Regions from separate parts of the Homo sapiens genome. Here region 2 is linked to region 1. The links are contacts of gene promoters, found by promoter capture Hi-C in blood cells and fetal thymus (Javierre and others, 2016). All regions are on one chromosome and are shown on one strand. Each heading gives the region's core, a stretch centred on a gene start or on the middle of the fragment in contact. The rest is flanking DNA. Distances are from core to core; before and after follow the strand shown.

What was found. Contacts are between HindIII fragments. The CHiCAGO score rates a contact against its expected background, and 5 or more counts as called.
Region 2: a contact is called between a fragment that was not itself captured here and the fragment with the promoter of COX7B in region 1, in 1 of 17 cell types (endothelial precursors). The highest score is 5.6, in endothelial precursors.

What each region holds. Positions count from the first base shown.
Region 1 is chrX:77,896,166-77,902,730 of GRCh38, forward strand. COX7B (cytochrome c oxidase subunit 7B) reads left to right here and starts at 3,303. Exons shown (of 3, transcript NM_001866.3): 1 at 3,303-3,428; 2 at 6,478-6,565. The coding sequence starts at 3,389. RefSeq lists an enhancer at 3,257-3,506. The HindIII fragment of the contact is 2,290 bases long and covers 3,018-5,307 here.
Region 2 is chrX:76,555,206-76,561,770 of GRCh38, forward strand. No RefSeq gene overlaps it. Among named protein-coding and RNA genes, the nearest start is that of MAGEE1, 130 kb to the left of the region's middle. The HindIII fragment of the contact is 1,897 bases long and covers 2,939-4,835 here.

The DNA.
Region 1 (6,565 bases), core at 2,053-4,552:
CTCCCGGGTTCAAGCGATTCTCCTGCCTCAGCCTCCCGAGTAGCTGGGATTACAGGCGCCCGCCATCACGCCTGGCTAATTTTTTGTATTTTAGTAGAGACGGGGTTTCGCCATGTTGGGCAGGCTGGTCTCGAACTCCTGACCTCAGGTGATCCGCCCGCCTCGGCCTCCCAAAGTTCTGGGATTACAGGCGTGAGCCACCAAGCCCGGCCGGCTTTTTTTGTTTGTTTTTTCAGTTAAACTCCTTGACTTAATATTTAAAGCACCAACAAGGACTTTAATTGCAGGTTATAGACAGCAAATTCCTTCTTTTTATTCATTATTTTGTTTGGGGGATGGGTACAAAAGTAAGGTTGTAAAGAAGGAAAACACCAACAAGATAAAATCAATCTGCCTACAATTTGGATTTATTTTGATGGTGTGGAAAATATTATATGACTATTATTTTAGGCGCTACTGGATAAAAAAACCAGGAAATTAATTTCAGTATGTTGGAGAGACAAGGAGATGGGATGGAAAGAAAAATAGCTGGTTCCGAAGTGAAGAGATGTGAAATACAGATGTGAAAAAAAGTTAAATCATTTATGGAAACTTATATTAAGAAAATGCAGGCCGGGTGCGATGGCTCATGCCTGTAATCTCAGCACTTTGGGAAGTCGAAGTGGGTGGATCACCTGAGGTCAGGAGTTCAAGACCAGCCTGACCAACATGGCAAAACCCCCGTCTCTACTAAAAATTTAAAAATTAGCCCGGTGTGGTGGCGCAGGCCTGTAATCCCAGCTACATGGGAGTCTGAGGCAGAAGAATCGCTTCAACCCTGGAGGCGGAGTTTGCAGTGAGCTGAAATCGTGTTATCACACTCCAGCCTGGGCAACAAGAGCGAAACTCAATCTCAAAAAAAAAAAAAAAGGAAAGAAAAAAGAAAAAATGCAAAATAAAAGTACACTGAGACATACTGTATGATTCAATCTATATATGACATTCTGGAAAAGGCAAACTCATTGGTACAGAGAACAGATTAGTGGCTGCCAGGGGCTAGGGGTAGGGAAAAGGGTTGATCACAAAGAGGTCAAACAAGGGTGTTTTTATGATGCTAGAGCTATTCTGTCCTTAATTGTGGTGGTGGTGACACAATTGTATGCATTTGTCAAAACGCATAGAACTGTACACCAAAAAGTGAATTTTACTATGTGTATGTTTTAAAAATAAAAATTTTAAAGTTTAAAAGGGATATCTTACCTATCATATTGGCAAAAATCCAAAAGCTTGACACTACATGCTATTAGCAAGGCTGTGGGGAGTCAGGCACCCTTTATATTAATACGTTGCTGGTGGGAAGGCAAAACGTTACAACATCTATAATTTGGCAATATCTAAAAAAACTACACATATATTTATCCTTTAATCCAGCAATCCCACTTCTAGTAACCTACCTTGGAGAGAGACATCCAGCAATATGAAAATATGTGTGCACAAAGTTATTCATTTCAGCATTATTGAAATTGAAATATTCTTGAAACTACCTAAATATTCCAACATAGGAGATTGACTGAATATACTATAGCACATATACACCACAGATTTTGCAGCTGTAAAAAAGGAATGAGGAAGACTTATGTAAAATGATAATGGATTTTTATGCTACATTTGTATAAAATAGAGAAATAAGAAAACATACAGGTATTTGCCTATTTTTGCAAAAGGAAACACACAAGATAAACCAGAAAGTAATGAAATCGGTTACCTATAGGAATTGGTGGAAATGGAATGCAACAGTTAGGGGAGGGAATGACACTTCTCTAAGTACACTAGTCTGTTTAGTTTTGACTTTTGGAATAATGTTAATATTTTCAATAGTCAAAATGTATAATCAAAGCATTTAGTTTTACACGATGAAAAAGTCTTAGAGATGAATAATGGTGATAGTTGCACAACAATGTGAATGCCATTAATGCCACTGAACTGTATGTATTTTATTTTTTTTGTTTTGGGACAGGTCTCAGGCTAGAGTGCAGTGGTGCGATCTTGGCTCACTGTAACCTCCGCCTCCCCGGTTCAAGCAAGTCTCATGCCTCAGCCTCCCGAGTAGCTGGGATTAGAAGCATGTGCCACCATGCCCAGCTAATTTTTTGTATATTAGTAGAGACGGGGTTTTGCCGTGTTGCCATTTCTTTTCTTTCTTTTTTTTCTTTTCTTTTCTTTTCTTTTTTTTTTTTGAGACGGAGTCTTGCTCTGTCACCAGGCTGGAGTGCAGTGGTGGTATCTTGGCTCACTGCAACCTCCGACTCCCTGGTTCAAGCGATTCTGCCGCCTCAGTCTACAGAGTAGCTGGGATTACAGGCACATGCCACCACGCCCAGCTAATTGTTGGTATTTTTAGTAGAGATGGGGTTTCACCATGTTGGCCAGGATGGTCTCGATCTCCTGACCTCGTGATCCGCCCACCTCGGCCTCCCAAAGTGCTGGGATTACAGGCGTGAGCCACCGCGCCAGGCCTAACAGCTTTCTTTTCTTTCTTTCTTTTTGAGACGTAGTCTCGCTCTGTCGCCCAGGCTGGAGTCCAGTGGCACGTTCTCGGCTCACTGCAACCTCCGCCTCCCGGGTTCAAGTGATTATTCTGCCTCAGCCTCCTGAGTAGCTGGGATGACAGGCGCGCGCCACCACGCCGGCTAATTTTTGTATTTTTAGTAGAGACGGGGTTTCACCATCTTGGCCAGGCTGGTCTCGAACTCCGACCTCGTGATCCGCCCACCTTGGCCTCTCAAAGTGCTGGGATTACAGGCGTGAGCCACCGCGCCCGGCCAATAGCTTTCCAAAGTTATTTTATCACGTATTTATCTACATATTACAGAAGTTTTTACTGTTCTTGCAACTTTTCTCTAAACTTGACGTTATTTGAAAACTAAAAGCTAAGCCAATTAGTATAGTAGTAATAGCAGACAAAAAAAATGAGAGAAGTAAAGGAAGTTTTGGGGGAACAGAAAGAAGAAAGAGCTAGTGTGGAGATACTAAACCGAAGCTTGTGGAACTTGAACGCCATTTTGAAGCTAGTTCCTTAGACGATTCGGTCGAAGATCTGTCTCTCGGCTGCCCTCTATAGAGCTCTAAACCTGGCTTCAAGGAGTTCTTTCATTCTTCATTAGATACCACCCACCATACGTCATTTTATAAAGCCGGAAACTACATTTCCCAAAAGGCCTTTATTTTTCCTCGCGGGAAAAGGGATTGCAATTACTATAGGTTTTACAGGTATCGCGAGATTTCGTCAAATCTCATTACGGATCCCGGCTGAAAGCCATTTTGTTTTTCAGCTCACTTCAAGGGTACCTGAAGCGAATTGGCACCAAAGCAGCAGCTGTATTGCCGCAGTTCTAGCTTCACCTTCACGATGTTTCCCTTGGTCAAAAGCGCACTAAATCGTCTCCAAGGTGAGCAAAAATTATGACAAATCATTTACAACAACCTTATATCAATGTGTCCTCGCGGCCTCTCGTGTGCTTTCCTTTTACGAACATCTCGGCCTTCTAATCTTGAATGCTGTCTGTCTCCCATCTCGTCCCAAGTCATTGGGATGATGTCCTTAGCATTGGCTTTATCACCCAGTATTTCTGTTTCGGTTTCCAGCTCTCTTTCTGTTATCGGAGTGATAGTCTAGCCCTGCTTTTTAATTCTTCAGTAACCTTTGATTTCAGGGAAGGACATTCTTGGTAGACACCTCGTTCCTTAAGTGATGTCCTACATTTTAGCTTTGGGGATATGTTTACTCCTAACCCTGTATAGAAAAATATCTTCTCCAATTCCTATTACTGTAATAGACGGAAACTGTAAATCTAGCTCTTCACCTGGTTTAATTGCAGGGAAACAACCCAAATGGTATCGATGCAGCTTTGAAGTTATTTGTGGATTAACAATGTTAGCTGGCCAGGCGCGGTGGCTCACACTTGTAATCCCAGCACTTTGGGAGGCCAAGGCGGGCGGATCCCCTGAGGTCAGGAGTTCGAGACCAGCCTGGCCAACATAGTGAAACGCCGTCCCTACTAAAAATACAAAAATTAGCCGGGCGTGGTGGTGGGCGCCTGTAATCCCAGCTACTTGGGAGGCTGAGGCAAGAGAATCGCTTGTACCCGGGAGGCGGAGGTTGCAGTGAGCCAAGACTGCTACTGCACTCCAGCCTGGGCAACAAGAGCGGGACTCCGTCTCGAAAACAAAAACAAAACAATGTTAGCTGTCCTGAAGGCAATCGTGGTCATTTTTTTCTTATCCAAAGGTTGGGCAGGTACAGGGAGTTTTGAGACCAGCATTATGTAGAGAAAATGCAATAGATTGAGGAGAACAAATTAATTTTCATACTTGATTTGCACCGAAGGTGACCTTGAGTAACGTGGGCAGTTGTTACACAATGAAGGTGACCCGTAATTACTATTTAGTTTGTTTAGCCATCTTTTGATTTTCACTTAATAGAATCATTGGAGGATATTATTAGATTGTGTCCTAAACTCTTAAGCAACTTTGAAAATAACCACAAAATATTAGCTGGACTATTTTCATATTCCCAAAGTAGCATTTATTATCTCTTTTACTTTGGGCATATGATTTAGCCTCTCTCAACCTCAGTTTCCTTCTTTGTAAAATAAGTAATTTGTAAATAATGCCTACTTCATGGGGTTGTTGAGGATTATATGAGATCACCAATGTGTGGTAATTAAACAGTTGTCACAGAGGAGAGGTCTGATGAAATCCACCAGAGTTACATGAGTGTGTTGAAGTTATGAGATGTTGCAGAATTTTTTGGTAGTCTTAATTTCTTTGCTCTTTGAGCAAATAGGGCCACCTTGTACCTCAGGAAAGGTTTTTTGTTTTTTTTTCAGCGTGGAATTCACATGCCCACTTTTTATCTTTTCTGGAGCAGAATATATTATGAAATATTTGTAAATTTGCCTATCCCGGTGTGACTAAAAGATGAAAAGGGAAAGCTATGTAAGACAGTTAGAAGATCTGATAATGGTCTAATAACTATCATGAAGTAACCCATTGTACCATGTAGAAATATTCATTGCTAGTGAATGGGCAACATTGCAGTTTCTTTTTTTTTTTTTTGAGACAAAGTTTCGCTCTTGTTGCCCAGGCTGGAGTGCAGTGGCTCAATCTTGGTTCACTGCAATCTCCGTCTCCTAGGTTCAAGTGATTCTCCTGCCTCAGGCTCCCTAGCTTTTCATTATATATGTAAGTACCTTTGGAGGCTCTTTAAAACGATAAGAACCTGCCCCTTAAATTGGACAGGAAGAAAAAAAAAAACAGCTAGAAACAAGCTTTTTCCAGTCTCGGCTGTTTCCCAAGCCCTCCTTTTTAGTTCTTCCAGGGGCCGTTTGAAAACTTTTGTTCTTCTCTTTCTACTGGTATAATACTAACAGCAAACTTTATCATTCTGCTCAAAAACTAAGTCCTTAGCTAATTCTGCTTCCTTGTACGATACTGATTTTTATCTACATGTGTAATCCTCTAGACTGGAAGTTACTTGAGGACAGGATCTCTGTCTTATACTTTTTTATATACCCCATTTCTCATTTTTTATTTTTAGGGACAGAGAATTGCTCTGTTACCCAGGCTGGAGTGTAGTGGTGTGATCATAGCTCACTGCATCCTCTAACTCCTGGACTCAAGTGATCGTCCGGCCACAGCCTCCTGAGTAGCTGGGACTACAGGTGTGCATGCACCACCATGCCCGGCTAATTTTTAATTTTCAATTTTTTTGTAGAGACAGGGTCTCACTATGTTTCACAGACTGGTCTGAAACTCCTGGCCTCAAGCGATCCTCCTACCTTGGCCTCCGAAAGTATTGGGATTACAGATGTGAGCCACTGTGCCTGGCCCATTAATTTTTTAAAAATCAAGATTACTCTAGTTGTGGCGAGTTTTTTTGTTACTGTAGTAATTTTACAGTCATAAGCATTTAGTGTGCTTTAATTTGAAGTTCATTTGAGTTCATTTGCCCTTGTATGTTGTAAGTTGTTGGGCTCTATTGAGTAAACTTTAATGAAAATTTAAGTCATAAGTATTCAAATTAATCAATGGGAGCCAAAATTTCAGGGGTTATGCAAATACCACTTTGTAGAGAATGTTACTGACATCATTCATTCTTTGCTTTTTTCCCCCAACACTATTATGAAAACTCTCAGACATACTGAAGAGTTGGAAGAATCGTATGAACACCCATATACCCACCACAAAGATTCTACAGTTAACATTTTGCTATTTGTTTTATCATGTATTTGTCCATCTGTCAATTCATCTTATTTTTGTTGCATTTCAAAGTACACTGCTTTAATAGCTACAATATGTTTTAACATTTTATTGAACTACATAATACTGTAAAATTAACTTCCTTGGCTTTCCTGATTGGCAGTATCAATCACATATGTTTTCTTTACCTGACAATTGATAATATGCTTCTGTATTCTTTTTTCGTTTTCCTGTAAGTTCGAAGCATTCAGCAAACAATGGCAAGGCAGAGCCACCAGAAACGTACACCTGATTTTCATGACAAATACGGTAATGCTGTATTAGC
Region 2 (6,565 bases), core at 2,637-5,136, 1.3 Mb before region 1:
TCAAAGTCTTGGGTTCAAAGGAGTTTCAGTGCTTCAGAACACACTTGAGAGAAGTGCAGGCCAAAGATTGTCTGTTACTCATCTAGAAAAATAGAGAGGCAACCCTCTGCTCCTTCTTCACTTTGGAATAGCCCAGGGTGGAGGGAAAGACAGTGGGAGCATCTCCCCTGTTGATTTTCCTCTTTGGTTCCTTGGGCCCCAGCATCTATTAAAGGTGCCACAATGGATGCAGGGATGACCCGCAAGTATGAATCTGGAAGAGCTGGGAGGTAGGATTAGTCATGCTTCCCCATTCAACTCTAGTCCTCCACTGGTGATTTCCCTTCGATTTCCTAGACTTGTGTGATCTGCATGGCTCCCTGAGAGGTAGATTTTGAGAAAGACTACATAACAATTACATCTGGGCAAGACCCCTTAATGGAGGAAAATTATTGAGTTGAGCTCTATATTCTGCTATTATGTCCTGGATTTATTTAGTAAGGGAAATTTATGTCTGGTTAATTTCCAGACATAAAATCACCTTACTATGTGAGTACCATTTTAATTGGATGAAGAATAGTTGTCTTAAAAGAACTTAGGGACCAAATGGCTGTTTTCCTGAAGATGTAGACAGTATTGAGGATAAATGTGGTTATGGAGGACAATTTTCTTCTCGTTGTTGAGTTTCCCAATTCACAGAAGAGGCATAAAGCCTGATCTCTAGTAGAGGGGCATAAAAAGGGAGAATTGGGAAACTAGAGGTTTTCAGCACTGACAAGATCCCTCATGGACAGGATTCATATTCCACGAGGTGGCGCTGTAGACCTTAAAATACCAGGCAGTAGCTTTGTATCCATGTGCTCTCTAGACAAAAGAGAGAGAGAAAGAAATGTTCCTGGGGATGTGGGGGCACTCTTTTCCTAGAAAATCACAAAAACGTCAATCACTTGAGCTGTGTTCCAAGTTACTATGGCATTTGTTGATCCTGTATAACAGAATTATTTCTCTGAACTGTAAAAATTCCCACAGCATTGCATACAGAGAGGGGATAGGAGACACAGTCACTGAAATAAAAGAAGGAAATTGCAGTAGTAAAAGCTCAGAGATCTTATTGTGAAGCTTGGAGATCCTGTTGCCAAAGCCCAATGAGCTGTGAGGAGCTCGAGTTGGTCCAGAAGCCTTCACTTAACACTGGGGTGTGGCCCCGGCCAGAAACTGTCATTTGCCTCTAGACCTCTTCCAGACCTATGCAATGGCTAGGCTCTCTGTGAAGGAAAACTGGTTCAAAACAAAGCCAACATTCACAGCACCCTGAGGGTTCTGGGGAATAAGCTATGTTCTCCCCAGCAAGCCTGCCATCTATTTCTTTAGACCAACAGCTGCACTAACCACATCTAGGTGGCTGACTGATACCTGTTTTTTTGTTTTTTGCTTTTTGTTTTCATTTTTTGCTTGATTTTAAAATTGAGGAGAGGAGACCCTGGAAGTAAAAGTAGAGAGTTGGGCCCGGCTCCTATATTCACTCTTTCAATGAACCTAAATTGGGTCCTTGGCAATCCCCCACAAGGAAGTTGCCTAATTATTTGGGGTGACATTTATAGACAAACCATGGCCCAGAGGGGATTTCATCTCTTTTCTGAGGTTCATTGTCTCACGGCCACAAGATCAAGGATGCAAACACACAAAGAGTGAGGTTAAGAACAGAAATTTAATAGACAAAATGAAGATAATAGCTATCTACTACAGAGAGGGGTCCTGGAAAAATGAGCTGCTGATCCACTGTTAAATGCAGGCTGTTTTATAGATGAGCCAGTGGGGTGGTGGTGTCTTATCTACACAGGGTGTGAAAAACTGGTCATAATCAGATGTGCCATCTGCATAGGGTGGGAATCTCTGGCAGTCCTCACGCCAATATTTTATTATGCAATTGGGTTCTCTGCCTGAGCTTCTCCATGTTTCCCATTTCCTTCTTATTGTACATGTGCTAACAAAAAAAAGGAAGGTGAAACTTCCATGGTGGACATGCCTGGCCTCCAGGTAGCCCTTTTCTAATGGCACAGCTGCCAGCATTTCCTCATGTAAACTTCCAGCTTTCTTATATATGTTTGCAGCTCGATCTTTCAGGCTGTTCTTTGTTGTTAGAAAAAAAAAATTTTTCTGAGCTGCTTTTAGCTAGAAGGGAAGTTCTGCTGAATACTCATTTGCCCTCACTATCTGCCTAAATAATGTCTTTCTATCTCCTGTATCAATGCTGCTAGTAGATGTTCTTTGGTGCCTGGCCACTGAAGAGTTAGGTATTTATAATAGTGTTTATGGCATGGGATTGTTTGTATCTGTCCTTTTTCAGATGACTTTTCAGATATTCAAAAGGACTACAATATTGTGATCTAAGCTGTATCTGCTTTAGGGAGTAACCCAAGTCCAGTAACATTGTGGTTATACAGACTCATAGAGGTACCATCATGATGATTTGGGACAAGTTCCAGGAGAATTATTTGGATTACCAGGCAGAGATATTTGTTCTCTTCCCTTATTTTCTCCCCCCAAAATGTAGTCTTTCTCTCAGTTCTGAACCACTTTAAGCTGGGAGTAAAATGACATAAGCATCCCTGTGGCCGCCACCACTATGACAATTTTGAGTTGGACCTTAAGCCAGCACAGCACTGTGTCTTGACCAAGGCATGCTGTTAACACTTGCTGACTACTCTCTATGTTTGCTCAAGGTCCTGGGCCTCTACAATCAGTAGGTGCCAAGGCCAACCAGGCCTATGTCTTTTCCTTCAGGGCAGTGAGTTCCCCCATTTCTTTAGTTGGTCCAGAGATGCTCTCTGGTAGTCAGGGTCTACAGTGAAAAATATTAGAGTCCTATCTGATGATCTGTTTTACTTAACCTGAGCTGGCACTCAAAACACAAGATGCAATTCTTCCCATTCTTTCCTCTGTTTACCAAAGGCAGAGAAGCTTCACTTCTTAGCTACCACCACCACAGGCCATGTGGAGAGCTGCCAGACAATGGCCAATGTTTTCTTAAGCCCCAAGGGCTTTTGATATCAGCTTGTGATGAAGGCTGCTTTTCCTGGGATTCAGTTTTCAGGGCAATGTGTTCCCCTCTGGCCCAGGGCAGGTCCAGAAATGCCAGACAAGATCCAAATCCTGGAATCAGATACCCCAAGAGCCCACGTGGTGCTCTACCCCCTGTAGCCAAGCTGGTACCTAAGTTGTAAGACAAAGTTCCCTTTACTTTTTTCTCTACTTTTCTCAATTAGAAAGAGTTTTACCCTATGGTCACAGCAACTAAGAATCTACTAAGTCTCACTTAAAACCAGCAAGTCTAAGAGGCTCACTTAAGGTCCTCAATGAAGTGCCCATGTATTGCTGTTAGTTTTTCAGGGTCCAAGTTCTCCTCAGTTAGCAAGTGATGAATGCTTCCAGAAATGGGGTTTTTCCTTCAAGATTTTGGGTTTCCCTCTGGGCCACAATTTGTCTAGAAATGTAATCCAAGAACTAGGGCCTAGAACCTCACAACTCTGACCAGTGCACTATTGTGCTGTGGCTGATTGTATCCAAGATGTAAGACAAAGTCCTCCCCCACTCTTCCCTCTCCTCTCCTCAAGTGAAAAGAAGAGATCTCTTTTGAAGCCACAAGCTATGCCGTCTGGGGCTAGGGAAAGGGTACTTCCATCACTTTCTTAGCTGCCACAGCTGGTGCCCCACTAGGTTGTGTAACCCCTCTCCTTGTTCACTGTATCTGGGCTCAGTTCAACCATGGGGCTCACCTAAGAGTTGAAGTAACTATGGTCTAGACTGCCTTTCAGGTTTCTTAGAGACCCAGAGTATTTTATCCCTCGGTGGTGAGGCTTTCCGAAACTCAAGCTCTAACCACTGGATCTGGTAATTTCTTTCTAGTTAGGGCTTGTTTATATGCTCCTTCTGTGGGTGGGTGTCAGCTGAGTTTGATCCTGTTTTCATTTTTGCTCTAACAGCACAGCACTGAGTTAAACACATCAAAATTGCTGATCTCTCTCTCCTAAAGTGTCCAGAAGTCCTTTCTACACCATGCCACTGCTGCTGGGGTTTGAGGGAGATGTGGCATTTGCAATTCAAGACTGTTTTGCTACCTCTTTAGTACCTCTTTCATTGATATGAAGTTAAAACTTAGTACTACGAAAGCTCACCTAATAACTTAGTTTTTATGAAGGTTGTGTGTGTGTGTGTGTGTGTGTGTGTAGATAGTTGTCAAATTTGTTTCTTTGCAGTGAGGACATTCAGCGCAGCCTTTTACTCCACCATTATGTTCAACAACCCTCGACATTGACAATTTTTGTATGTTGCACATTCCTTGCATCTCAGAGATAAATCCCAATATAGGAGGAGGTTCCAAGATGGCCGAATAGGAACAGCTCCAGTCTACAGCTCCCAGCAGGAGTGACACAGAAGATGGGTGATTTCTGCATTTCCAATTGAGGTACCAGGTTCATCTCACTGAGGTTTGTTGGACAGTGGGTGCAGGACAGTGGGTGCAACCCAATGAGCATAAGCCAAAGCAGGGTGAGGCATCACCTCACCCAGGAAGTGCAAGGGGTCAGGGAGTTCCATTTCCTAGCCAAGGGAAGGTGTGACAGATGGCACCTGGAAAATTGGGTCACTCCAACCTTAATACTGCACTTTTCCAACAGTCTTAGCAAACGGCACACCAGGAGATTATATCCCGTGCCTGGCTTGGAGGGTCCCATGCCCACGGAGCCTCACTCATAGCTAGCACAGCAGTCTGAGATCGAACGGCAAGGTGGCAGTGAGGTTGGGGGAGGTGTGCATGCCATTGCTGAGGCTTGAGTAGGTAAACAAAGCCACTGGGAAGCTTGAACTGGGTGGAGCCCACCGCAGCTCAAGGAGGCCTGCCTGCCTCTCTAGACTCCACCTCTGCGGGCAGGGCATAGCTGAACAAAAGGCAGCAGAAACCTCTGCAGACTTAAATCTGCCTGTCTGATAGCTTTGAAGAGAGTATTGGTACTCCCAGCACGGAGTTTGAGATCTGAGAACGGACAGACTGCCTCCTCAAGTGGGTCCCTGAACCCCAAGTAGCCTAACTGGGAGGCATCCTGCAGTAGGGGCAGACAGACACCTCACATGGCCCAGTACCCCTCTGAGATGAAGCTTGCAGAGGAACGATCAGGCAGCAACATTTGCTGTTCAGCAATATTTGCTGTTCTGCAGCCTCCACTACTGATACTGAGGCAAACAGTGTCTGGAGTGGACCTCCAGCAAACAGCAACAGACCTGCAGCTGAGGGTCCTGACTGTTAGAAGGAAAACTAACAAACAGAAAGGACATCCACACCAAAATCCCATCTGTATGTCACCATAATCAAAGACCAAATGTAGATAAAACCACAAATATGGAGAAAAAACAGAGCAGAAAAGCTGAAAATTCTAAAAATCAGAGTGCCTCTCCCCTCAAAAGGAACACAGCTCCTCATCAGCAATGGAAAAATGCTGGACAGAGAATCACTTTGACAAGTTGAGAGAAGGCTTCAGATGATCACACTTCTCCGAGATAAAGGATGAAGTTCAAATCCAAGCACAAAGAAGCTAAAAACCTTGAAAAAAGATTAGACAATTGGCTAACTAGAATAACCAGAGTAGAGAAGTCCTCAAATGACTAGATGGAGCTGAAAACCATGGCATGAGAACTATGTGATGAATGCACAAGCTTCAGTAACTGATTCGATCAACTGGAAGAAAAGGTATCAGTGATTGAAGATAAAATGAATGAAATGAAGTGAGAAGAGAAGTTTACAGAAAAAAAGAATAAAAAGAAATGAACAAAGCCTCCAAGAAATATGGGACTATGTGAAAAGACCAAATCTATGTCTGATTGGTGTACCTGAAAGTGACAGGAAGAATGGAACCAAGTTGGAAAACACTCTGCAGGATATTATCCAGGAGAACTTCCCCAACCTAGCAAGGCAGGCCAACATTCAAATTCAGGAAATACAGAGAACACCACAAAGATACTCCTCAATAAGAGCAACTATAAGATACGTAATTGTCAGATTCACCAAAGTTGAAATGAAGGAAAAAATGTTAAGGGCAGCCAGAGAGGAAGGTCGGGTTACCCACAAAGGGAAGCCCATCAGACTAACAGCGGATCTCTTGGCAGAAACTCTACAGGCCAGAAGAGAGTGGGGGTGAATATTCAACTTTCTTAAAGAAAAGAATTTTCAATCCAGTATTTCATATCCAGCCAAACTAAGCTTCATAAGTGAAGGAGAAATAAAATCCTTTACAGACAAGCAAATGCTGAGAGATTTTGTCACCACCAGGCCTGCCCTACAGGAGCTCCTGAAGGAAGCACTAAACATGGAAAGGAACAACCAGTACCAGCCACTGCAAAAACATACCAAATCATAAAGACCATTGATGTTAGGAAAAAACTGCATCAACTAATTAGCAAAATAACCAGCCAACATCATAATGACAGGATCAAATTCACACATAACAATATTAACCTTAAATGTAAATGGGCTAAATTCTCCAATTAAAAGACACAGACTGGCAAATTGGATAAAGAGTCAAGACCCATAAGT